Linked DNA regions of Homo sapiens: all the other regions are linked to region 1. Evidence: promoter capture Hi-C in 16 types of primary human blood cells and fetal thymus (Javierre and others, 2016). All regions are on one chromosome and are shown on one strand. The core of a region is centred on a gene start or on the middle of the fragment in contact, and the rest is flanking DNA. Distances in the headings are between cores, read along the strand shown. Region 1 holds the start of FIP1L1 (factor interacting with PAPOLA and CPSF1). Region 2 overlaps PDGFRA (platelet derived growth factor receptor alpha). Region 3 has its middle 42 kb from the start of GSX2. Region 4 has its middle 8.6 kb from the start of GSX2. Region 5 has its middle 10 kb from the start of GSX2. Region 6 has its middle 5.0 kb from the start of CHIC2. Region 7 overlaps CHIC2 (cysteine rich hydrophobic domain 2).

The links. Contacts are between HindIII fragments. The CHiCAGO score rates a contact against its expected background, and 5 or more counts as called.
Region 2: a contact is called between a fragment that was not itself captured here and the fragment with the promoter of FIP1L1 in region 1, in 1 of 17 cell types (M1 macrophages). The highest score is 6.2, in M1 macrophages.
Region 3: a fragment that was not itself captured here is called in contact with the fragment with the promoter of FIP1L1 in region 1 in 1 of 17 cell types (fetal thymus); the score reaches 7.1 in fetal thymus.
Region 4: a fragment that was not itself captured here is called in contact with the fragment with the promoter of FIP1L1 in region 1 in 5 of 17 cell types (total CD8 T cells, naive CD4 T cells, total B cells and 2 more); the score reaches 7.1 in total CD8 T cells.
Region 5: a fragment that was not itself captured here is called in contact with the fragment with the promoter of FIP1L1 in region 1 in 3 of 17 cell types (total CD8 T cells, non-activated CD4 T cells and total CD4 T cells); the score reaches 7.1 in total CD8 T cells.
Region 6: a fragment that was not itself captured here is called in contact with the fragment with the promoter of FIP1L1 in region 1 in 11 of 17 cell types (non-activated CD4 T cells, total CD8 T cells, naive CD4 T cells and 8 more); the score reaches 15.7 in non-activated CD4 T cells.
Region 7: a contact is called between a fragment that was not itself captured here and the fragment with the promoter of FIP1L1 in region 1, in 1 of 17 cell types (fetal thymus). The highest score is 5.6, in fetal thymus.

What each region holds. Positions count from the first base shown.
Region 1 is chr4:53,375,918-53,379,306 of GRCh38, forward strand. It overlaps FIP1L1 (factor interacting with PAPOLA and CPSF1), which reads left to right and starts at 1,724. Exons shown (of 18, transcript NM_030917.4): 1 at 1,724-2,006; 2 at 3,156-3,200; 3 at 3,308-3,347. The coding sequence starts at 1,922. LOC105377654 (a long non-coding RNA gene) reads right to left here and starts at 1,823. Exons shown (of 3, transcript XR_007058118.1): 1 at 1,742-1,823. RefSeq lists enhancers at 1,442-1,990, 1,792-1,881, 1,932-2,051, 1,991-2,539 and a silencer at 2,212-2,301. The HindIII fragment of the contact is 4,469 bases long and covers 1-3,057 here.
Region 2 is chr4:54,274,394-54,277,782 of GRCh38, forward strand. PDGFRA (platelet derived growth factor receptor alpha) reads left to right here. Exons shown (of 23, transcript NM_006206.6): 11 at 138-232; 12 at 448-580; 13 at 2,995-3,099. Among named protein-coding and RNA genes, the nearest start is that of PDGFRA, 47 kb to the left of the region's middle. The HindIII fragment of the contact is 998 bases long and covers 1,118-2,115 here.
Region 3 is chr4:54,140,462-54,143,850 of GRCh38, forward strand. No RefSeq gene overlaps it. Among named protein-coding and RNA genes, the nearest start is that of GSX2, 42 kb to the left of the region's middle. RefSeq lists a silencer at 1,431-1,649. The HindIII fragment of the contact is 7,651 bases long and covers 1-3,389 here.
Region 4 is chr4:54,107,093-54,110,481 of GRCh38, forward strand. No RefSeq gene overlaps it. Among named protein-coding and RNA genes, the nearest start is that of GSX2, 8.6 kb to the left of the region's middle. The HindIII fragment of the contact is 1,078 bases long and covers 1,370-2,447 here.
Region 5 is chr4:54,088,007-54,091,395 of GRCh38, forward strand. It overlaps a transcript of CHIC2 not described here and the pseudogene MORF4L2P1. Among named protein-coding and RNA genes, the nearest start is that of GSX2, 10 kb to the right of the region's middle. RefSeq lists a silencer at 3,332-3,389. The HindIII fragment of the contact is 7,418 bases long and covers 1-3,389 here.
Region 6 is chr4:54,067,940-54,071,328 of GRCh38, forward strand. It overlaps a transcript of CHIC2 not described here. Among named protein-coding and RNA genes, the nearest start is that of CHIC2, 5.0 kb to the left of the region's middle. The HindIII fragment of the contact is 3,398 bases long and covers 1-3,286 here.
Region 7 is chr4:54,046,823-54,050,211 of GRCh38, forward strand. It overlaps CHIC2 (cysteine rich hydrophobic domain 2), which reads right to left. Exons shown (of 6, transcript NM_012110.4): 2 at 2,429-2,483; 3 at 2,133-2,288. Among named protein-coding and RNA genes, the nearest start is that of CHIC2, 16 kb to the right of the region's middle. The HindIII fragment of the contact is 6,225 bases long and covers 1-3,389 here.

The DNA of each region.
Region 1 (3,389 bases), core at 474-2,973:
TAGAAAGGTTGATTGCCTGACTATACAACCTGCTAGGTATAATGAAGAACTGAGGCCAGGCCTGGTGGCTCATACATGTAATCCCAGCACTTTAGGAGGCCTAGGTGGAAGGATTGCTAGAGACCACGAGTTCCAGACCAGCCTAGGCAACATGGTGAGACATTGTCTCTACAAAAAATAAAAAATTAGCCAGGTGTGGTGGCACCTGCTTGTCTGTAGTCCCAGGTACTCAGGAGGCTGAAGTGGGAGGACTGTTTGAGTCTGGGAGGTAGAGACTGCAGTGAACAGTGACCCTGCCACTGCATTTCAGCCTGGGTTACAGAGTAAGACTGTTTTTTAAACAAAACAAAACAAAACAAAACAAAACAAAACAAAACAAAAAAACAGGCCGGGCGTGGTGGCTCATGCCTGTAAGCCCAGCACTTTGGGACACCAAGGTGGGCAGATCACCTGAGGTCAGGAGTTCAAAACCAGCCTGGCCAAAATGGTGAAACCCCCTCTCTACTATAAATACAAAAATTGGCTGGGCATGGTGGTGCGTGCCTGTAATCCCAGCTACTTGGGAGGCTGAGGCAGAAGAATCGCTTGAGCCCAGGAGGTGGAGGTTGCAGTGAGCAGAGATCGCACCACTGTACTCCAGCTGGGCAACAGAGTGAGACTCCGCCTCAAATAAATAAACAAACAAACAAAAAACCTAGACAAACCTAGAGCTCCAGTTTGAACCATGGTATGTCATCTTTTCACTGGAAGATGTGCTTTCAGAAGCGGCCTGAACATTTGGTTTACCTATTAAAATAAAAACTGTACATACTTTATGATCTATCTTTGAGAAACAGACAAATCTGCAAGGAGCCGTGTGGATCTTCATTGTCATTTTTTGTTGTAGTTAAAAGTGTAAAGTCAAAAGCAATCTGGGTGTACATCAATGGAGAAATAGCCATATTCACTCTGTGATAGCCATACTATGCAATTTTATGAAGCACTTAAAATAGATATAGTTTGATTCATACTAAAATGAAAAAGAGCTCCAAGACACGGATGCTAAAAAAAAAGAAAAAAAAGGAAGTCGAAGGATGATACTATACTGTACTGTACTATTTAAGACTTGTCAATCTCAGGTTCTCCCACCAAAACAGCACAACACATGAAGTAAGTGTATAGGAAATTTCGGAATGATGAACTCCAAACAGGATATGCATCTGTAGCAAGGGCTACCTCCGGAGAGAAGGGTAGGGGAATGAGGCGGTCTTTGACCTTGACAGTAATTTATGGTTTTTAACAAGGAGAGTGCATTCTTCATCTATTAGTTTTGCTTTTGTTGGCTGTGAAAATTAATTTTTTGAGAAATAGTACTGATTGTGATTTCTTCTCTATTCAGTGAGGAAAGGGAGTGACAGGTAATGATTCTGTATCAAGGCTGATTAAAGAATAAAAGAAGGCCTTTCTGAAGATTAAAAAACAAATAAAAAGTTGAGAAGAAAGAGCACGAAGAGTAGAAGGGAACAATGGTGTACTCGCCAGCAATGGCAATACGGGTTATTAAAAAGAAGGGTGGGGGCGGGGAACCCTGGCCGACTCAGGACGCCACGGGAGGAAGCCACGCAAAATAGCAAACCGGGATCCTAGAGGGGCGGGGCCCACCTCAGCGCGCAGGCGCAACCAGGCCCAGGTGGCCGCCGCGGAAGCGAAGCCACCTATACGCGCCGCGCCGCTTGGGTCTCCTGCGCATGCGCAGACGGACCTGCGCTGGAGGCTTCATCTTTGCCGCCGCTGCCGTCGCCTTCCTGGGATTGGAGTCTCGAGCTTTCTTCGTTCGTTCGTCGGCGGGTTCGCGCCCTTCTCGCGCCTCGGGGCTGCGAGGCTGGGGAAGGGGTTGGAGGGGGCTGTTGATCGCCGCGTTTAAGTTGCGCTCGGGGCGGCCATGTCGGCCGGCGAGGTCGAGCGCCTAGTGTCGGAGCTGAGCGGCGGGACCGGAGGGGATGAGGAGGAAGAGTGGCTCTATGGCGGTACGAAACTTCCTGTCTCTGTCTCTCGGGTTCTCTCAGGCCTCCCCTCTTGGCCCTCAAACGGCCGGCGTCCCTGGCCTCTCGCGCCGCCGCTTCGGGCCTCTGGTTGGGAGTCCTGTCCGGCCTGACTTAGGCCGAGCGCGGCGTGCGCGTGCCCCCAGTCCCCGCGGCGGTCTCCCGCCTGGCCCACGCCCACCATGCGCATCCACCCCTGTGGCGGCCGGGCCGGGCTGGGGGGCTGTGACCGGTCCTGGCCCCCGGCTTCGCTGTGCTTTCCCCGAGGCGTCTCGATCGCCTAGCTGCTGCGCTCTTTACCCTTGTTTTTTTCTGTCGATTCTGAGGTGGTGGTTTTTGGTGTCTGTTTTTGCCCTGTGGCCTTAGGGTGCCCTTCCTGTCCCTTCTTTCAGAAACAGTCATTCTGTAATAATAGCTAAATAAAGTTAATGCTGTACAACTAACGTCTTGTTTCTTGATGGTCAGTTTGTATGGAATGCACCTGCAAGGGTACCTCCTTGTCTGAAAGTCGTGCTTTAAAAATAATTAATTAAGAGAGAGAGAGAGAAAGATGGCCCATAAAGAAAACTCTGAATGTCTCCTGTATTAAGGTGAAGTTATTCTTTTTTAAGAGACTACCGTTTAACCTACATCATGGAGGTATCTCATGACCCTTCGGCTTATAGTTTTCAGTGTCATCTCATGTATTTGTTTTTCTCAAAATAAATTTAATGCATCATGTACTTCTCTCTAGAAGGGTACTTGTTTGACATCTGGTTTTTAACTTTAAGTCACAATCCCTTCTTGCTTGTTAACACCAGATTTGAAAGTTAATGTTTGTTCCTTGCCTAAAACATATATTCTTGATTGTCTTTAGAATAGAATAGTAAAAGTGCACTTTGGGCACCATGCAGGTCCTTGATGATGTGACTTTGATAAACTTGTAAAAAAAAATCGTTTGGTGGCAAGATTTAGCATTAGTTACTACTCTTTGAAATGTGAATGTGTAGGATTTCTTTTACAAAGATCTGGAAATCTTCATTACCTCTTAAATTTAAGCTTATTTTTATAGCAGTAAAGTCTGATTTTTTTTTCCATAAAATAAGTATCTTGTTAAGTAATTATAAGGTGATCTAACTTTGGATGTGCTTATAGGCCCATGGGACGTGCATGTGCACAGTGATTTGGCAAAGGACCTAGGTTAGTGCTTGTGATGATCACTTCAGATTTTCATAATACTAGTTTCTTTAAGAGTGGTTTCTTTATTTTGTTTGCTTATTTATTTATTTGTTTATTTTACTTGGTAGATGAAAATGAAGTTGAAAGGCCAGAAGAAGAAAATGCCAGGTTAGTGAAATTTTCTGTTGATGCCTATTACACAGGTTGTGT
Region 2 (3,389 bases), core at 367-2,866, 900 kb after region 1:
AAAATGAACCAGGCAGCCCTCACACTTCCCCACCAGCAGTGAGAGATTCCTGGCTCAGACACAGCCACACTACCTTGCTGCCCCTGTGCATGTCTGCCAGGAAACTTTTCATTGTGCCTCTCTCTCTTGTCACGTAGCCCTGCGTTCTGAACTCACGGTGGCTGCTGCAGTCCTGGTGCTGTTGGTGATTGTGATCATCTCACTTATTGTCCTGGTTGTCATTTGGAAACAGGTAGATATTTTCTCATAAAACTAAAGATCTTTGAAGCCAATGAGAACAAGCATAGCAACCTAGTTCAGTGCTTGGCACAGAGAAGGAGCTCAGCAATTACATGTGGAGTGAACGTTGTTGGACTCTACTGTGTCCAGTCACTGTGCTGCTTCAGTGAAGCTCTGGTGCACTGGGACTTTGGTAATTCACCAGTTACCTGTCCTGGTCATTTATAGAAACCGAGGTATGAAATTCGCTGGAGGGTCATTGAATCAATCAGCCCAGATGGACATGAATATATTTATGTGGACCCGATGCAGCTGCCTTATGACTCAAGATGGGAGTTTCCAAGAGATGGACTAGTGCTTGGTAAGTTCCATGGGGTAACCTCCCAAGACTCCCTTTTCCCTTGCACACAACTTTACAATTTATAGGCCTTGGCAGAATAGAGATCTGAGCTTGTGCTTAGTAAGAACTAGGCAATGGAAATTTGCTTTCAGAAATACATTTCTGTCTTGACAGTAAGTTAATTGGATCATTGCAATGATTTTTTTAAATCTCTTTCCATAACAAATTATAGTTAAGGAAAATTTTACAAAGGGAGAAGAGAATATGAAGAGGGCTGGCAAAGATACCCACCAAAATTGCTTTTCTTTAGAAATGACACAAATTGAAAATGAATTTCTGTGACTAAAAATGAGCAGATGAGAAATGAATGAGGACAACCACAAAATGTATTTTGATTCAGTACATTCTGAAGATGCATTAGATACTCCTTTTTACATATTTGGAATATGGAATATAAAAATATAGGTACATTTTGAGGCAAAATATGTAAAAATAAGCAAGCCAACTTATCACAAGCATTTCAAGTATTTCAATCCTGGGCTGAGACCAAGTATATGAAGCTTTAGTCCAAGGGAGTATTTCTTTTTTAAATCACATTCCTAATGAATGAAAGCAAGACAAAGGCAAATGAAAGTAGAGGTAGAGGTTGTGTTATGATGAATGATCTAACAGTATATATGTTAAAGAATGCCAAATGCAGGTTTTAATTATCCACCGGTCTCATTGCAAAATACAGAAGAGTTTAAGTCTTCTTAGAGAGTTAGGTAAACTGAAATCAAGCAAGGCACCAGAGTGAAATCACCTTTGCAAAAATTGTAACTGAGGAAATTATGACAGTGAATGAGATATGACCTAACCAACTCCATTTTGCTTTAGCCTCCAAGTTGTCCTTGTTCCTTCCTGGGCATAGGCCGAACTAACTTTGAGAGGAACTTAGTTTATAGTTTGACTTTGAAAAAAAGACAATAATAGCCCTTTGCCAAAACAAACCCTCTTTTTCCCTGGGAACTAGACTGCCTTTGCGGGACTAACGAATTAGCTACAAGATTAGAAAGTATGGTTTAGGGGTCACTGTTGTAAAACCTGAGGTCAGTGCTTGAGATATTTTGGAGACCCTGTATTTCGATGCACCAGCTGACACCACCCAGGTCAATAAACTGGCTCATCTGATCTTGGGGCCCCTACCTAGGAACTGACTCAGTGCAAGAGGACAGCATCAGCTCCCTATAATTTCATCTTTGACCCAACCAATCAGCACTCCCCTTTTCACCCCCTACCCACCAAATCATCCTTAAAAACCCCATTCCCCCAGTTTCAGAGACACTGATTTGAGTAATAGCAGAATAGTAGAAATTCCCCCAGTTTCAGAGACACTGATTCGAGTAATAGTAGTAATAGTAGAATAGGTCTCCCGTACAGCTGGCTCTGTGTGAATTAAACCCTTTTTCTATTGCAATTCCCCTGTCTTGGTAAATCGGCTCTGTCTAGGCAGCGGACAAGGAGAATCCATGGGGCGGTTATAAGAGCTGCCCCCCAATTTCAAATATTTATATCTAAGCTTTCTTTATTTTCCTGCCTATTTCCCAACAAGGGATGAGGAGCTTAGGGAGTTAAAAAGTAGTAAAATATGGGGAAAAGGGCATAATTCCCATTATACCAAGAGGCATTGCTGGTGAAGCAATACCTTTCCAGGTACGATTTTCAGTAACACAGACGTGCAGTAAGAGGCAGTGTTGGCTGTTAGTGTCTTTTATGAGCCAAGTCTTTTCCTGGCTTGGCTATCCGTGGTGAGACTGACACCCCGGGAAATGTTTCTCTCAGGGTGAGCTCTTTCAGGGTGGGACAACAGCTTCAGTGTCTTTACGTATGTCTCCTCCCAACATGAAGCTAATTGCTGTGCTCTCGGGCATGTTTAGCTCTTGGTAGAGTGGCTTTCCTAACAAATAGGGAGCAGTGAGCCCAGCCTGAAGTTTTTATTTAGTCACTCCTTAGAATCAGTGATATTTTGAATACTGAAGTATTTCCAGTGGCTAGTAATTTACTAAGACAAAAGATGCCCCTGTTTGCATATGGAAAACAGAAGGGGAGAGAGCCAGGAGGTGTGGGTGAGAGCCCCGAAGGCAAGAGGATCCCAGGGGCTGGCCCAGCACGGAGCTGGTAGACAGCGCGCTCACACCAGGGAGGGCTGCACCCTCCTTTCTCCCGTCTGTGTTTTCTTTCCCTTGCAAGTGTTATTCGACAAAAGCAATTATGCTAATTTCCTTCCCTGTGGGCTCAATTCCTTTTTTGACACGATGACTTGGAGGAGTCATTATGATTACTCCAAACAGGAAAGACACTCGCCCAGCTGTCCGCCCGCAGAGAGCTGGCTACGGTGCAGAAAGCTGAGGAGGCGTCTGGAGTTTTTGGGTGTTAATGATTCTGCCTGCCCACAGGTCGGGTCTTGGGGTCTGGAGCGTTTGGGAAGGTGGTTGAAGGAACAGCCTATGGATTAAGCCGGTCCCAACCTGTCATGAAAGTTGCAGTGAAGATGCTAAAACGTAAGTGCTCCTTCCTGGGGATTTTTTGAGCACGGGGATTTTTTGAGCATGGGGATATTAAGGGAATTTCTCAAAATCATGCAGCTAGTAAATAAGACATTTAGGACTAGGTCCTGATTATTTTGACTCCAGGTTTTATGTGTATTTAGATTAGGTTTATTTAGATTGCTCTTGCTGCCTGTATGTTGGAAAATTAAGAGCTTGTTATTTCCAGTGACTTCTTTTTACTAGAAAGACCAGGAATTAGTTATTAGCACTGAGGCCAAGTAGCTATCTGCTTCTTTTAGACT
Region 3 (3,389 bases), core at 368-2,867, 760 kb after region 1:
TGGGGCCCAGTGCTGTGCTGGTTTCATGTCTCAGCCAGCACAGTCCTGGTGGTGGTGGCTACAGGGTACTTGTGTCCCTCCACCTCCAGTTCCAGGAGACTCAGCACAGAGTCAGGGAGAGACGCTGCTTGTGAAAAAATAAGAGAAAAAAATAAAAGTGTCTGCCTGGTAATCTAGAGAATTCTTCCAGATCTTATCCAAGACTACCAGAGCAGCACCTCTATGAGTCTGCAAGAAACATAATATTATTGGACTTGGGGCCCAAGTTCCTTCAAAATACCCGGAAAGCCTTTCCAAGGAGGATGGGCACAAATAAGCCCAGACTGTGAAGACTACAATAAGCGCCTAACTCTTCAATGCCCAGACATTAACGAACATCTACAAGCATCAAGACCATCCAGGAGAAAATGACCTCACCAAACAAAATAAATAAGGAACCAGGGACCAATCCTGGAGAAACAGATATGTGACCTTTCAGACAGAGAATTCAAAGTAGCTGTGTCGAGGAAACTCAAAGAAATCCAAGAAACACAAAACAGAAATTCAGAATTCTTTTTTTTTTTTCTTGAGATGAACGCCCAGGCTGGAGTGTAGTGGTACGATCTTGGCTCACTGCAACCTCTGCCTCCTGGGTTCAAGTGATCTTCCCACCTCAGCCTCCTAAGTAGCTGGAATTACAGGTATGTGCCACCACACCCAACTAATTTTTATGTTTTTAGTAGACATGGAGTTTTGCCATTTTGGCTAGGCTGGTCTTGAACTCCTGACCTCAAGTGATCAGCCTCCCAAAGTGCTGCGATTACAGGTGTGAGCCACTGCGCCTGGCCAGGAATTCAGAATTCTATCAGACAAATTTAACAAAGAGATTGAAGTTATTAAAAAGAAATGAAATTCTAGTGCTGAAAAGTACAACTGCCATGCTGAAGAATGCATCTGGGTCTCTTAATAACAGACGTGATCAAGCAGAAGAAAGAATTAATGAGCTTGAAGACAGGCTATTTGAAAATCCACAGTCAGAGGAGACAAAAAGAAAGAGTAAAAAACAATGAAGCATGTCTACAAGATATAGAAAATAGCCTTAAAAGGGCAAATCTAAGCACTATTGGCCAAAAAGAGGAGGTTGAGGAAGAGATGGGGATAGAAAGTTTATTGAAAGGGATAATAACAAAGAACTTCCCAAACCCAGAGAAAGATATCAATATTCAAGTACAAGAAAGTTATAGAACATCAGGCAGATTTAATCCAAAAAAGACAACCTCAAGGCATTTAATAATCAAACTCCCAAAGGTCAAAGATAAAGAAAGGATCTTAAAAACAGCAACAGAAAAGAAACAAATAAAATATAATAGAGCTCCAATACATCTGGCCTCAGACTTTTCAGTGGAAACCTTATAGGCCAGGAGAAACTAGCATGACATATTTTAAATGCTGAAGGGAAAAAAAAAACTTTAACCCTAGAATAGTATATTCAGCAAAATATATCTTTTAAGCATGAAGGGGAAATAAAGACCTTCCCAGACAAACAAAAGCTAAGGGATTTTCATCAACACTAGACCTGTCCTATAAGAAATGCTAAAGGAGGCCAAGCGTGGTGGCTCATGCGTGTAATCCCAGCAGTTTGTGAGGCTGAGGCGGGTGGATTGCTTGAGGCCAGGAGTTCCAGACCAGCCTGACCAACATGGTCAGGTGTCTCTACTAAAAATACAAAAATTAGCTGGGTGTGGTGGCGCATGCCTGTAGACCCAACTACTTGGGAGGCTGAGGCACTATAATTGCTTGAACATGGGAGGCAGAGGTTGCAGTGAGCTGAGATCATGCTACTGCACTCCAGCCTGGGCAAAAGAGTGAGACTCCATCTCAAAAAAAAAAAAAGAAATGCTAAAGAAAGTTCTTACATCTGAAAGAAAAGGACATTGATGAGCAATAGGAAGTCACGTGAAGCTACAAAACTCACTGGTAATAGCACACAGAAAGACATAGAATATTATAACACTTTAATTACGGTGTTCAAAATACTCTTAAGCAGAAAGACTAAGCAATGAACTAATCAAAAATAATAACTACAGCAATTTGTCATGACAGACAGTACAATAAGACATGAAGAGAAACAACAAAAAGTTAAAAAGCAGGAGGATGAAGTTAAGAGTTTTTATTAGTTTTCTTTTTGCTTATTTGTTTGTTTATGCAATCAGTGTTAAGTTGTCATCAGTTTGAAACAATGGGTTATGAAACAGTAGTTGCAAGCCTCATGGTAACCCCAAATTGAAAAACATACAATGGGCCAGGCACAGTGGCTCACGCCTGTAATCCCAGCACTTTGGGGGGCTGAGACGGACGGATCGCTTGATATGAGGAGTTGGAGACCAGCCTGGCCAACATGGTGAAAACCCTGTCTCTACTAAAAATACAAAAATTAGCCAAGTGTGGTAGTGGGCACCTGTAGTCCCAGCTACTCGGGAGGCTGAGGCAGGGGAATCACTTGAACCTAGAGGCAGAGATTGCAGTGAGCCAAGATTGTGCCACTGCACTCCAGCCTGGGTGAAAGAGTGAGACTTCATCTCAAAAAATGACAACAACAACAAAAAACTGGACTCTTTCATCATTATATAATAACCTTCTTTGTCTCTATAGGCGGCAGAAACAAAGAAGGTCATTATATAATAATCAAGGAGTCAGTTTAGCAAGAAGATATAACAATTATATATGCACCCAACACTGGAGCATCCAGATATATGAAGCAGCAAATATTATTTAAGGTAAAAAGACAGCCCTCAGTACAATAATAGCTGGAGATTTTAACATCCCACTTTCACCAATGGACAGATCTTCTAGACAGAAAATCAACAAGGAAACATCAGGCTTAAACTGCACTATAGAACAAATGGACCTAATAGATATTTACAGAGCATTTCATCTGAAGGCTGCAGAATACACATTCTTCTCCTCAGCACATGGATTATTCTCAAGAATAGACCATATGTTAAATCACAAAACAAGGCTTTAAAAAATTCAAAAAAATTGAAATAACATCAGGCATCTTCTCTGACCACAATGTAACAAAACAAGAGATTTGGAAGCTATAAAAATACACAGCAATTAAACAATATGCTTCTGAATGACCAGTGGGTCAATGAAGAAATTAAGAGGGAAATTGAAAAATTTGTTGAAACAAATGATAATGGAAACAGAACATACCAAAACCTATGGAATACAGCAAAAGCAGTACTAAGAGGGAATTTTATAATTATAGGTATCTACATTTAAAAAGAAGAAAAACTAATCTAATAATCATAAATAACCTAATGGTACGTGTTAAAGAACTACAAAAGCAAGAGCAAACCAAACTCAAAATTAGCAGAAGAAAAGAAATAATAAATATCAGAGCAGGT
Region 4 (3,389 bases), core at 659-3,158, 730 kb after region 1:
GCTTAGGAAAGTAACTAGTTTCAGATTAATGAAGCAGTGACAATTTCAATCTGCTTAAAGGCGGAGGTTGGCACTGCCCAGGCCTGAGCGTGGGGAGCTCGCCAGGCTGGGCTTTATATTGTCCCCTTTTCTGAAGAGCAGACAAAGATGGATAGAGAGACATTGAAAAGCAAGGGGAGTATTTCAAACAGTCTCATAAAGCAGGCTGTCACTTTAAGACAAGAACCATAGTGCTTTGATGACTTTGTATTAGCTGCACCATTTCAAATAGGGGACTCAAGTCTCTAGTGAGAGGGAGGCAAGGGGAGAGAGGAGAGAGAAGACAAGAGAGAGAGAGAGAGAGAGAGAGAGAGAGAGAGAGAGAGAGAGAGAATGTAGTAATATTTAGCCTGTGAGCACTGTGGCGAAAGTAATTCTAGGCAACTACTTGGTTTCTGAAGTTCAAGGAGAAACCACCCACAGCAGGTGCAGAGAAAAAAAGGCAGGTGGGAGTTGCTCCCGATGGGAAAGAGCTCCCTGCCTATGAGTGGCAGCCGGCTCCAAGGAGCAGAAGCCAGCTTGGTCTCAGTTTGCTGCGAAGGGATGGAGCAGGGTGAGAAGCTCTGCCTGCCCCAGACCTTGAAGGATTATAATGGAAATTTTTGAGAGTGTGAAAAAGAAAGAATACGAAGGAGAGGGAGTGCATGCTTTTGGAGACTTCCTTCACAAACCCTAATTTAGATTGTTTGGGGTCAAGCAGCAGCCAGCCACCTTCCTCCTTTCCTCCTTAATTAATTAATAAGAATGATTAATTATTAGGATTTTGAATGTCAAGGCTTCAAAATGCCTTTGGCTAGAGGCTGATGAGTTGCTTAAGCCATACATGTAGTTTTAACTTGGGATAAGGGAGTTGAGACTTTAGAGGTGTGTTTGCTGTCACTCTGTCTTTTTTTTTTTTTTTTTTTTTTTTTGCCTTTGCATCTGCTTCCCCAGTGATCTTTCTCTGTCTGCATTTCTCTGTCTTGTCTCCATCTCCTTCTGCCTTGATATCCGCCCCCACCCCCACCCTTTGTTCTCCTGGCCGTTTTCCCCATCCAGTCTCCCCTGGCCATGGCTCAATCCTCCTAGCTCTCCGGGGAAAGAGGAGGATGCTAAAGCTGCCATTCCTACTTGGGTATCTACTGCGGGCACAGGCATCTCGGAATCCCACTGCATCATCGGTGGCAGGAAGTGGGTGGGCATTAATGTAGTTTCACTCGCTGGATCGAGAGTTATTGACAGCTTAGATTTTCTTTTTTCTGCTTGTCAAAAATTTCTTTCTCTTTCTTTTCTTCTCTTTTTTTCTTTTTTTTTTTCTTGGATACGGGAACCAGAACCACGAAATCCTGCAAGCTTTGAAGGCCGGCGAAAGGGCTCCCCCGTCGGTGGCGCCGGAGGGAGAAGCGTTTAGTCACTGTTTCATTAGGCACTATTTGAACCTTGCAACATGTGGTAATTTCTGGGGCAAGCTGAAAAGGGGGGATTATGTAGGAGGGACATAAGGAAATTAGCCAACGGTTAATTTAACTCGTTTTCTGCTAGACTTTTCGATACATTCCTAATTGACTGAGGGGCAGGTGAAGCTCCCGCCCCATGCAGGCTCATTCACGGTGGGAATAAATGGCTCTTTCTCAACTCACACTGCTCACAATATATCATCAGGGAAAAGACATGCAATGAATATGTTGATTTTTTTTATTAATGGAATTACACCCTGCCATGCAGGTGTGAGGGTAAAAACCTATACTGCAATGAAATAAGATTAACAATGAAATTAGAATTTTATTAGCTTTATATGTCACACAGACCTGGATTTGAACTGTCAAAACAAGCAACAAGAAAAGATATTCTGAACGCAGCCCTGTCAATCAACCAGGAGAAACGAACAGCGTGGTATCGAAATCATAATCACCTTCCAGTTCTTCAGCGCCTCACTTGGGCCTTACGTGAGAAGCAAGTGGGTGGAGGACCCCGCGTGGGCAAAGGCCTGGTCTCTGGACCTGCAGATAGTAGATGAAAAACACCACCTGGGTTCGGTAGACCCGGCCTAAAAAAGGCTCGGGTCCAGGCTAGAAGGGCCTGGATGGCCCGAGGCCTCCAAGATATCAGACGGACCGGCTGGGCACCCGCGGCCTGCAGGCCATATTTCGCGTCCTCCAAATCAGCTGCCTAGGGCGGGCCGTGACCCGAGGGAATTGGAGAGAAAAGTCCAAACGCTGGGCGAGAGGCGGGGTAGGGCGCCCTTTGGAAACCGCCCTGGGTTTTGTTACTCCGGGGCCCCCGGAGCTTCGGCACAGCTACCTGGGTCTGGCAGGCGCAGAGGTGCCGTATGCAAATGGTTCACTATTAGGCGAGAAAGAAATACTTCAAATGGCCCTTTGTAACCTTCTATAGAAAATCGAGGTACTCTGCATGACAAAGCACAATTAAGCTTTCTATTCAGGAGTTCTGCAGCTGGTAGCCCATTGGGAAAGTGGGAGGAAACGCGAATATATTAATAGTGTGGCGAAAGTTTTTTGTGTGCGTGTCCTTTTCTAGGTCGGGGGTGGGGAGGGGCGGTGGGTGGACGCAGAGGGAGGAAGGCTCAGCCTTGGATCCTTGCCACCTGAACAACGTCGCCTCTGCCCACGTGGAAAGCCTCGCTTGTCTGGCAGCCGGGGTTCTGAATGGTTGCCGCGACCCCTGCGCTCCCAGCAGGGCCAAGAGGACCTCGCGGGCACCAGCGTCCGGGCGGGAAGGGACGTGTGCCCAAGCCTCGCCTCCTGGCCCTCAGTGGGCTGGGACGCCCTTGATCACCGGCGCAGGAAAGAGGCTCCCCAGCCCGTGAGCTTCGTCCGGGCGCCAGGGCAGGGATGGCTGGTGGTGTGCACTGGAGAGCACGACGGTGACGCTGCGTGGGAAAGAGACGTGGGAAGGGCATAGCCGGATTATCCACTCAGCTCCAATTTTCTCCAAGCGCCACTCACCCCACAGTTGAGGTTCGCTTCCCGATTGTTCATTTGTAGAGTCTAAAGGGAAAGAAAATTTTGCCTCTGAATAAATAAAGGGCCCTTAAAAACAACTCTGCTGATTATCCTGCGTTTTCCATCTGGATCCATTTCGCCCTCTTCTGCCCTGCTGGGTGCCCTCGGACACTGACCTTTGTGGACAGTATTAGTTCCTTTATCAACTGCGTCACTGGCAGGCGCTTGCCTCTGGCTTCCATTTGCATTTGGTGAATAAGTGGCACTGCAAATAACCGAACAACCTAAGGATAGAGAACTGCAGGTATATTGTTTCTGGGAATGTTATATTGTTCCAGTTCTGGCAGTTGCTGCTTCTCTAGAAATTCTTTTTCTCTTTGAGAGCCTATTTTCCTAGGCTCTGGCTTT
Region 5 (3,389 bases), core at 648-3,147, 710 kb after region 1:
AAGAAATATTCAGTGGAACATTTTATTGCCTAGTTGACAACATTGCTTGAATGCTGGTGGTTCTACCCCTTTGACACTACACAATTTTCTAATATGTGTTAATGCTACATGACAAAATGCCCTGACTCCTAGTGCCAAACATTCAATTTGATATATATACCCAAAAACCCATGCATTTGTTCTCTTTTTTTTAATGATGCTTGAAGTAAAACAGCCCATCCTCTGCAAATCCGTCTATGTTGTTCCTTAGGCATTCTGTCTTTGCGCAAATTGTTGAAGGGTGGTCGTTTGTTTCATGGTTTTTGCATTTGAGTCTAATGCATGTTGTAACGTGATAGAGGCAATGCATTATTGTGTAAGCCACAGTTTTCTGAAAAAGTTGATATTTTAGGAATTACATTTCAGATCTTAAATAAAATTTGTTTCTAAATTTCAAAGCAAAAAAGAAAAAAGACAGTAAGAAAGTGTCTTTGGAGGAAAGACCTAAAGGTGAGGAAGTAAGACGTGTGAGCTTGTAGGGGAAGAGTTCTCAACAGAGGGGAAGGCTAGAGAGGGCCAGACCAGCAAGGAAAACAGAGGGAGCAAGTAGGCCAGTGGTTGGAGTGGTCAGAGACAGCCATGGTGGCATCATGGAGGGCCTTTTGTTCTTGGTCTGACCTGATCAGACTTCTATTTCAAAACGATCCTTCTGGCTGCTCTGTTGAGAACAGATTGTAGAGGCAAGTATAGGAAGAATGAACCCAGTCATCCCTATGCAGTGGTGATGGCTTGGACCCGTGCGATAGTAGTTGGAGTGTTAAGAAGTGGTCAGTTTCCAGTTACATTTGAAGTTAAAGCCTTCAGGACTTCATGATGGGTTAAATGTACAGGATTAGAGAAAGAGCAAGAGAGGAGTCACAGAAGATTCAAAGGATTTGGGCAAGAGCCACCAGAAGATGGAGGTGCCAGCAACAGAGACCTGAGGGTAATGCAGGAACCTGGAACTCCTGTACCTTCTCTTCTCCTAGTTTCCAGGGCATCTTCCTGCAAGTGTATAAAACTGTAGGTAGAGGAACAAAGCTGATATGGTCCTATTTGGTGACTGTAGGAGAGACTGACCACTAAGACCATTTCATCCCTTGAGACCTCAGTCTCCCTACTTATAACATGAGATAGGTCAGTTACATAAGGACAGAATTCCTTTCTTGCTGTTAAATTCAAGAACCTAGATCTGCAATCGGTTCTCCAATCTTTCAAGCCTTCTTTTTGATTTTTTTTCCTTGGGAAAACATCTCAATAATGAAATCCAATCTTTAAAAATTTTGGTTTTAAACAAAATTATATTGTGATCAGCTTGAGCCTAGGAGTTCAAGGCTACAGTGAGCTATGATCCCACCACCACATTCCATATATATATATATATATATATACACACACATATATAGTGATCAAAATATTTGATCAAAATATCAAAAAATGTTTTTAATAAGTCAGCTTCTCTAAAATAAAAATAAGTATGTCTTGCAATTGTTTATACAATACCTTGTTCCAGGGAGGTACATGGCTAATCAGGAAACATATTTCCTATGTTGTATTTAATCAGAAATTTTGCTCACAAGGTTAAATTACAGCATTCATTTTGTGCCACTGTGAAAATATTCCCTTCCATTTTAACAGGACTAAAAATGCTTCCAAAGCTGCCTAAAAGAATATTCAGCTCCTATAGGTTCTTGCTGCATTTTTATTTCCCTTGGTAACAGTACTTTTGATAACATTGGTGGAAGAAAAGAAGTCATAGTAAAGGATGAAGATGGAGTATCTGATACTATAACACTAGCCTGATGCTAGAGGAGAATGTAATACAGGCTGAATATTGAAAATTTGCAACTTATTGAGCACCAACATGACATCACAAGTGGAAAATTCCACACAGAAGTACTTAAAACATATTGCTTCATGCAAAAAATCATTTAAAATATTGTATAAAAAACTTTTAGGCTATGTACACTGAATAAGCTGTATGTGAAATATAAATGAATTTTGTGTTTAGACTAGGGTCCTCTTCCAAGATATCTCATTATATACATGCAAATGTTCCAAAACCATAAAAAATCCAAAATCTTCAGACACATCTGGTCCCAAGCATTTCTAATGAAGGATACTCAATCTGTATAAATTATACACAATTTAATTATTTTATTTTATATATATATATTTTTTAGATGAAGTTTTGCTCTATGGCCCAGGCTGAAGTGCAGTGGTGCAATCTCGGCTCACTGCAACCTCCACCTCTCAGGTTCAAGAATTCTCCTGTCTCAGCCTCCCAAGTAGCTGCGGCTACAGGCGTGTACCACCACGCTGGCTAATTTTTGTATTTTTAGTAGAGATGGGGTTTCACTATATTGGCCAGGCTGGTCTCGAACTTCTAGCCTCAAGTAATCTGCCTGCCTCGGCCTGCCAAAGTGCTAGGATTATTGACATGAGCCACCACAACCGGCCTAATTTAACCTAAATCCAGAAATAATCCCTTAAATTTTGTAGCTCACAAACGCATCCTCCCTCTTTCCCCACAACATTCCATCAGACTCAGGGAACGTCATCACACATCAACGTCGTCATAGTTTGTATACTGAGTGCTAAGTATGTGCAAGGCGTTGTGCCAAGGGATGTCAGGCTTAACTCACTTAATGCTCACAACCATCCTGTGAGAAGAGGGTCATTATTATTTCCATGGTCAGAGAGAAGGTGGATTCACATCCAGGACCTCCTAAACCCAATCCCAAACTCAGTGGTGCAGTGAAAGGGTGAGGTTGGGTTGGAGATGAAATGGATTTGCACTGATTTCAATGCATCGTCTTATTACGATCAGTGTTTGTCTCATAATCTCCATGCCCCTCTGCTTGAGGACAGAGGCGACAAAACTTGTGTATGACTGGCATTTTGCAAGCTGGTTACACATTAATAAAAGGCCCAGTGGAAGTTCCAAAACAAATGAGATCTAAGCTATCTTGTTCTCACGGTTTCCCAAGCCCAAGTAGAGCCTGGCATACTATAGGCACACCATGGGTGCTCCCTGAGTACATGAACATAAAGATGATCCACAGGTGGGTGAACAATACTGGGGGCAGGTGAAAGGGAGGACCTCGAGGCAATACTGCCAGAGCCCCTCCTGCTTAGAGTGTCCAGGCTTCTACATGGGGAGACAGCGCACCCCCCAGACACTCCCGCCCACTCCTTTCTGGCTCGCTGAGTGACGCCAGTTTCAAGCCTCAGCCCACGCCAGGCTCCAGGACCAGCAGAGCGGGTCTGCGCGGACAGAGGCACTGGGCTGCGCCCGTAGCGCACCCCACCAAGAGGAAGGCGTGCCTAGTGGGGAGGCGGGGCTCCAGGGGCCGGGCACACGCAGACAC
Region 6 (3,389 bases), core at 338-2,837, 690 kb after region 1:
GTTGAAGCCCTAACCCTCAATGTAATGGTATTTGGAAATGGAGCCTTTGGAGGTAATTAGGTTGAGATGAGGTCAAGAGGCTGGGGCCCTCATGATGGAATTTGTGCCCTTACAAGAAGAAATACTAGATAGTTTTCGATCTCTCTGTGCCATGGGGACACAGCAAGAAGACAGTCATCTGCAAGCCAGGAAGAGAACTCTCACCAGGAACCAAATCATCAGGAACTGTGAGCTAAATTTCTGTTGTTTAAGCCACCCAGGCTACGATGTACTGAATGTTTACATCCCCCCAAATTTGTATGTTGATATCCTAGCCCTCAAGGTGATGGTATTAGGAAATATTAGGGCCTTTGGGAGGTGATTAGGTTATGAAGGCTGAGCCCTCATGAATGGGATTAGTGCCCTCATAAAAGAGGCCCCAGAGAGCTGGTTTGCCCCTTCCACTATCTTAGAACACAGCAAGAAGACAACCATATACAAGGACGAAGCCCCTCACCAGAAACCAAAGCTACCAGCCGTTTGATCTTGAACTTCCAAGTTTCCAAAGCTATGAGAAATAAATGTTTGTTTATAAGTCACATAGTTTATGATATTTGATTATAGCAGCCCAAAGGGACTAAGACACAGTCTATGGTATTTTGTGTGGCAGCCTATTTGTGTGGAAAATACACTCAATGTGCTTTTTCCTATTCTCCTGCTTAACAACAACAACCAACACAGAAGACTCTCTGTGACCAGATGTGTTGGGGGGTTTTCTCCACCAACAAGCAAGCAATCAGTTCTGCAGTGGGCACCAGCTGTATGTCCTAATTCAATTCCAGCACTCTCTACCTGGAGATAGCATCAAATCCCACAGGTTGAGGGCTCAGTCCGCAAGACTGCACCCTCCACTTCAAACACCAGTCACAAGTCCAGGTCTCCAGAACTTCTGACTGACCAGCTATAAATTGGGGTTCCCACAACACCCTCGTCAAGTTCAACTAATTTGTTAGAGCGGCTCACAGAACTCGGGGAAACAGGTTTACCAGTTTATTAAGAAGGATATTTCATTTCATTTCATTTCACTTATTTATTGAGACAGAGGTACAATCACCATTCACTGCAGTCCAATAGTTATTTATTTATTATTTATTTATTGAGACAGAGGTACAATCACCATTCACTGCAGCCTCAACCTCCCTGGGCTCAAGCAATGCTCCCACTTCAGCTTCCCGAGTAGCTGGGAATGCAGGCATGCACCACCACATCCAGCTAATTTTTATATTTTTTGTAGAGATGGGGTTTCACCATGTTGCCCAGGCTAGTCTCCAACTCCTGGGCTCAAGTAATCTACCCACCTTGGTCTCCAAAAAGTACTGAGATTATAGGCATGAGCCACCACACCCAGCCAAGAAGGATCTTTTAAGGGTTACAAATAAACAGCCAGATGAAGAGACACAGAGGGTGAGGTCTGGAAGGGTCTTGGGTGCAGGAGCTTCTGTCCCCGCGGAGTCGGGGTGCTCTGCTTTCCCAGCACACGGATGAGTTCTTGTTCATCTCCCTGTAATCCTCCACGTGTTCAGCTGTCTGGCAGCTCTCAGAACCCTGTTCCTTCAGGGTTTTATGGGGCTTCATTACGTAGGCATGATTGATTACACCGCTGGCCATTGACTTAATCTTCAGCCCCTTCTGGTGATCAGCTCTCATCCTGAAGCTAACTAGGAGCTGCCAGCCTACAGTCAACTCACTAGAATACAGAAAGACATTGCTTTGGAGTTTCTAAGCATTTTAGGTGTTGTATGCCAGGAAACAGGGTCAAAAACCAAATATGTATTTCCTGATATCACACAGCCCAAGCTGACTTGAGAAAGCATATAAACCCTCATTTGTTCACTCATTCATTCATTCAACAAATTTGCATTGAATGCTTCTCATGTGTCACATACTGTGCCAGGAACTAGGGATTTAGCAGTAAACCAAACACAGCCCCTGCCTTTGTGAGCATGAAGTCCACTGGGGAGGACTGACAGATAATTATAAAAATAAATAACTATTAGAATTGTGATCAGTTCTGTGGAGAAGCACAGGGGTCCATGGGAGTAGTAAACCCACCTAACTCACTCCAAGAAATCAGGATTTATTCTCTGGGAAAATGACATGTAAGCTGATGAGCTAAGCAAAGGTATGGAGGTAGGGAAGTAGAGAGAAGAGAGGAGAAAGCTCCAGACAGTGGGAATAGCATGTTTAAAGACCTTGAAGTAGAAAAGAGCACAGCTCAAATGAGGTAAAAAACAAAGCCAGTGTGGGTGGATCATAGTGAGGAAGGCAGAGCCAGATTGGAGTTGAGGTCAAAGAGGCTGGTGGAAACTTGATGGCCTTTGTAAGAAATCTTAAATGCATGCCAAAAGTAAAGGAGCGGAGGATGTGAAGCCAGGCAGTGACATTATCAGATGTGCATTTTTATTATTTATTTATTTATTTATTTATTTATGTATTTATGTATTTATTTATTTATTTATTTTGAGACGGAGTTTACTCTTGTCGCCCAGGCTGGAGTGCAATGGCACAATCTCGGCTCACTACAACCTCCACCTCCCGGATTCAAGCGATTCTCCTGCCTCAGCCTCCTGAGTAGTTGGGATTACAGGCATGCACCAGCACGCCTGGCTGATTTTTGTATTTTTAGTAGAGACGGGGTTTCACCGTGTTGGCCAGGCTGGTCTTGAACTCCTGACCTCAGGTGATCTGCCCAACTCGGCCTCCCAAAGTGCTGAGGTTACAGGAGTGAGCCACCAGGCCTGGCCAGATGTGTATTTTTAAATCCCCAAGTGGGAGACCAGTAGTCCAGCCTAGCCTGCCTGCACCACTTCCCAGCCTGTTATTCTGTAAATGGCACACATTCTGTAACAACACTCTCAGGATTTTTAGTAAATCATATCCCCTCCATCCTCAGTACATGTGATTAGGTTAAGCTGACCATATCTCCAGTTCCAAGAGTGGGCATCTGACCTAAAATGTTCAGGTTGTGCCCCAACCTTAGAGTTTTTGGTGCCCGCAGTATAAGTAATAGAAAATAGCACTTCTGCTCCAATGCTTTAGGATTGATGTATGTGCAATACAACTATGCAAAAGGCCTTTAGAGAGCAACAGAGATCCTCTTCGCCTTCCATACAACTGTGGCCACTAAAGGAGAGGGAAGGAAGATGATCTAAACTAGGCTGGGAGCTTCCTGAGAGCAGAACCAATTATGCTTGGAGAAAAAGCTAAATGTGTATATAGATTAAGCATCCTTAATCTGAAAATCCAAAGCTTGAAATGTTCCAATGAGCTTTTCCTTTGAGTGTCATGTCAGCACTTAAAAAGTTTCAGGTTTTGAAGCATTTTGGATTTTGGATTTTTAGATTAGGGAT
Region 7 (3,389 bases), core at 479-2,978, 670 kb after region 1:
TCTGCACAGCAAAAGAAACTACCATCAGAGTGAACAGGCAACCTACAGAATGGGAGAAAATTTTTGCAACCTGCTCATCTGACAAAGGGCTAATATCCAGAATCTACAATGAACTCAAACACATTTACAAGAAAAAGCAAACAACCCCATCAAAAAGTGGGCAAAGGATATGAACAGACACTTCTCAAAAGAAGACATTTATGCAGCCAAAAAACACATGAAAAAATGCTCATCATCACTGGCCATCAGAGAAATGCAAATCAAAACCACAAAGAGATACCATCTCACACCAGTTAGAATGGCGATCATTAAAAAGTCAGGAAACAACAGGTGCTGGAGAGGATGTGGAGAAATAGGAACACTTTTACACTGTTGGTGGGACTATAAACCAGTTCAACCATTGTGGAAGTCAGTGTGGCGATTCCTCAGGGATCTAGAACTTGAAATACCATTTGACCCAGCAATCCCATTACTGGGTATATACCCAAAGGATTATAAATCATGCTGCTATAAAGACACATGCACACGTATGGTTATTGCAGCACTATTCACAATAGCAAAGACTTGGAACCAACCCAAATGTCCAACAATGGTAGACTGGATTAAGAAAATGTGGCACATATACACCATGGAATACTATGCAGCCATAAAAAAGGATGAGTTCATGTCCTTTGTAAGGACATGGATGAAGCTGGAAACCATCATTCTCAGCAAACTATCGCAAGGACAAAAAACCAAACACCGCATATTCTCACTCATAGGTGGGAATTGAACAATGAGAACACATGGACACAGGAAGGGGAACACCACACACCGGGGACTGTTGTGGGGTGGGGGGAGGGGGGAGGGATAGCATTAGGAGATATACCTAATGTTAAATGACGAGTTAATGGGTGCAGCACACCAACATGGCACATGTATACATATGTAACTAACCTGCACGTTGTGCACATGTACCCTAGAATTTAACGTATAATAATTAAAAAAAAGAAACCCTGTCTCTATTTTTTTAAATACATTTTTAAAAAATAAAATTTATTTATTTAAAAAAATTTTTTTAAAGTATCATTTTTATACATATAAATACAATTTTTGAAAATTTTAACAAGAATATAATACATTCAATCTATAATAATTTGTCATATCTCTACCAACATCTTAAAATTTTGTTTATTTGTTTGTTGAGACAGAGTTTCACTATTGTTGCCCAGGCTGGAGTGCAATGGCACGATCTCAGCTCACTGCAACCTTCGCCCTCCAGGTTCAAGCGATTCTCCTGCCTCAGCCTCCTGACTAACTGGGATTACAGGCACCCGCCACCACGCCTGGCTAATTTTTTGTATTTTTAGTAGAGACAGGGTTTTACCATGTACGCCAGACTGGTCTTGAACTTCTGACCTCAAGTGATCCGCCCGCCTTGGCCTCCCAAAGTGTTAAAATTGCAGGCATGAGCCACTGTGCCTGGCCAGAATTTTTTATTATAAGCAGTCAAAATAATGAGTCTTTGAAATTATTTTTTCTGATTACAGAATCACTTTGTGCTCACTACAGGAAACTTGTAAAATATAAAAAGCAGAAAAGAATGTCCCATAATCTTACCAACAAGAAACAACCATTGTAACCATTTTATTTCTTGTATGGGTACCATCTTACAGTCAGTAAGAATACTATTAATTAATACTTATTAACCACTTCCTTTGAGATATTCAGCTAAGAGTTTTCCAAACATTTTCATTTTACCTTTATATTCAAGTAGTAGGTGAACATTTTACAGTTGTGTCAAGTAGGGTTTAAAGAGGTTAGGAAACGTGCCTAAGGTCACAGAGAAAAGTGGTAGAGCTGAAGCCAGCATCCTTGATCACTATACCACACCACTGTCAATGTACAGATACAGACAATGCCATACACTACTCCTTGCTTCTAAAATTATAAATATAATTTTTAGATGGCTATTTAATAACAGCACTTGGATATATAGTAACTTTACTGACTCACTCCTCTCCTGGATCAGATTATTTTCATATTTTATTCAGGATAGTGTGATTCATTCAATACAAAAAATAAAAACTAGATAAATGCAAGACTTGCTTGTCCACTTCTAAATTTAAATTAAAATATATAATTCAACTTACTCTTTTACTGAGGCAAATAACTGGCCACATACTGCAACCTAATGTGCAGCAGCAACAAAGGCAGCCACAAAGTAGCCAACGTACATTAACAGGAAGGTTCTTCTTAAGACAACTGTTAACTCTGTTGATGCTGGCTTTAAATTCTTCAGGAGCTACCTAAAGAAAAATTTTAAGAAATAATAACAATGCAATATTAATGTCAAAAAACATGACTGATGAGCATACTTTTTTCTAATTTTCTCAGAAAAAAACTTTCATTTTGAGGCATACAAATAGTACATAAATGAGACACTCACTTTTCCAGTTAATGAAGAAGGGAATTCAGATTCAAATTTGTTGCTCAGTCCAAATCTATTTTAAAAAATAAGAAGAATATGTTATTACATGTTATTGTTGCCAAAAATGTAGACCATTTAATTTAAAGGTCAAGTCAATAGAAAGCATTTTCACATATGGAGGAAGTTTTAGACATAAAATGGAAGTTTGAGATAAAATAACTGTAACAAGCAATTTATGAAATGTAACAATTATTTTAGCAGTTAAATGGAAACTTTTGCATAATGATAAGGGGCTGAATGTTAATTAACCAGCAGTATGTAAACAAAAATATAAATGGTTCATTTAATTTGAGCTACCAACTTTATATCTTAAAAAGTAACTACAAAGCATATTATTTTAATGGGTGGGATAGCGATTTTTTCCAGCTTTTAATGTTATTGGTGGAAACAAACAATACCTGTGAATTTTAGCAGGTGTCCTACACAAGCAATAAGATGAGAAGGAAAAATGCAGGAAAAAGAGTGAGGAGGGGAAGAATAAGGAAAAAGGGAGAGAAAAAATAAAAAAGTAGGAATGGACAAAGTGCTACCAAGAACCGTCTTAGGTTCCATTGAACACCTATTTGTCAGTGCATTAGATGGTATGAAAGAAAATGTAGACGTGTACTATACCTATATCTATTCCTATTACCTAAAAGACCTTTTCTTGAATCATGGTTAAAATATTCCATGGCTTTAGAATTGATAAAAGATTTAAACTATTTTCAAAGAATGGTAAATATAACAAGAAGATAAAAGACATAATAAAAACAACCTATCTTGCTTTTATCTATCAGAAGTCTACCAGTACTTGGAGAACAGAGAATTCATTCAAATCACAACTACTGAGCACATTCCATGCAACACTTCAGTGCAGGCTTTTATGGCTTTTACAGCTTCCTTTGTTTCCTTAAGAAATCACACACGAGACCAATTTTAC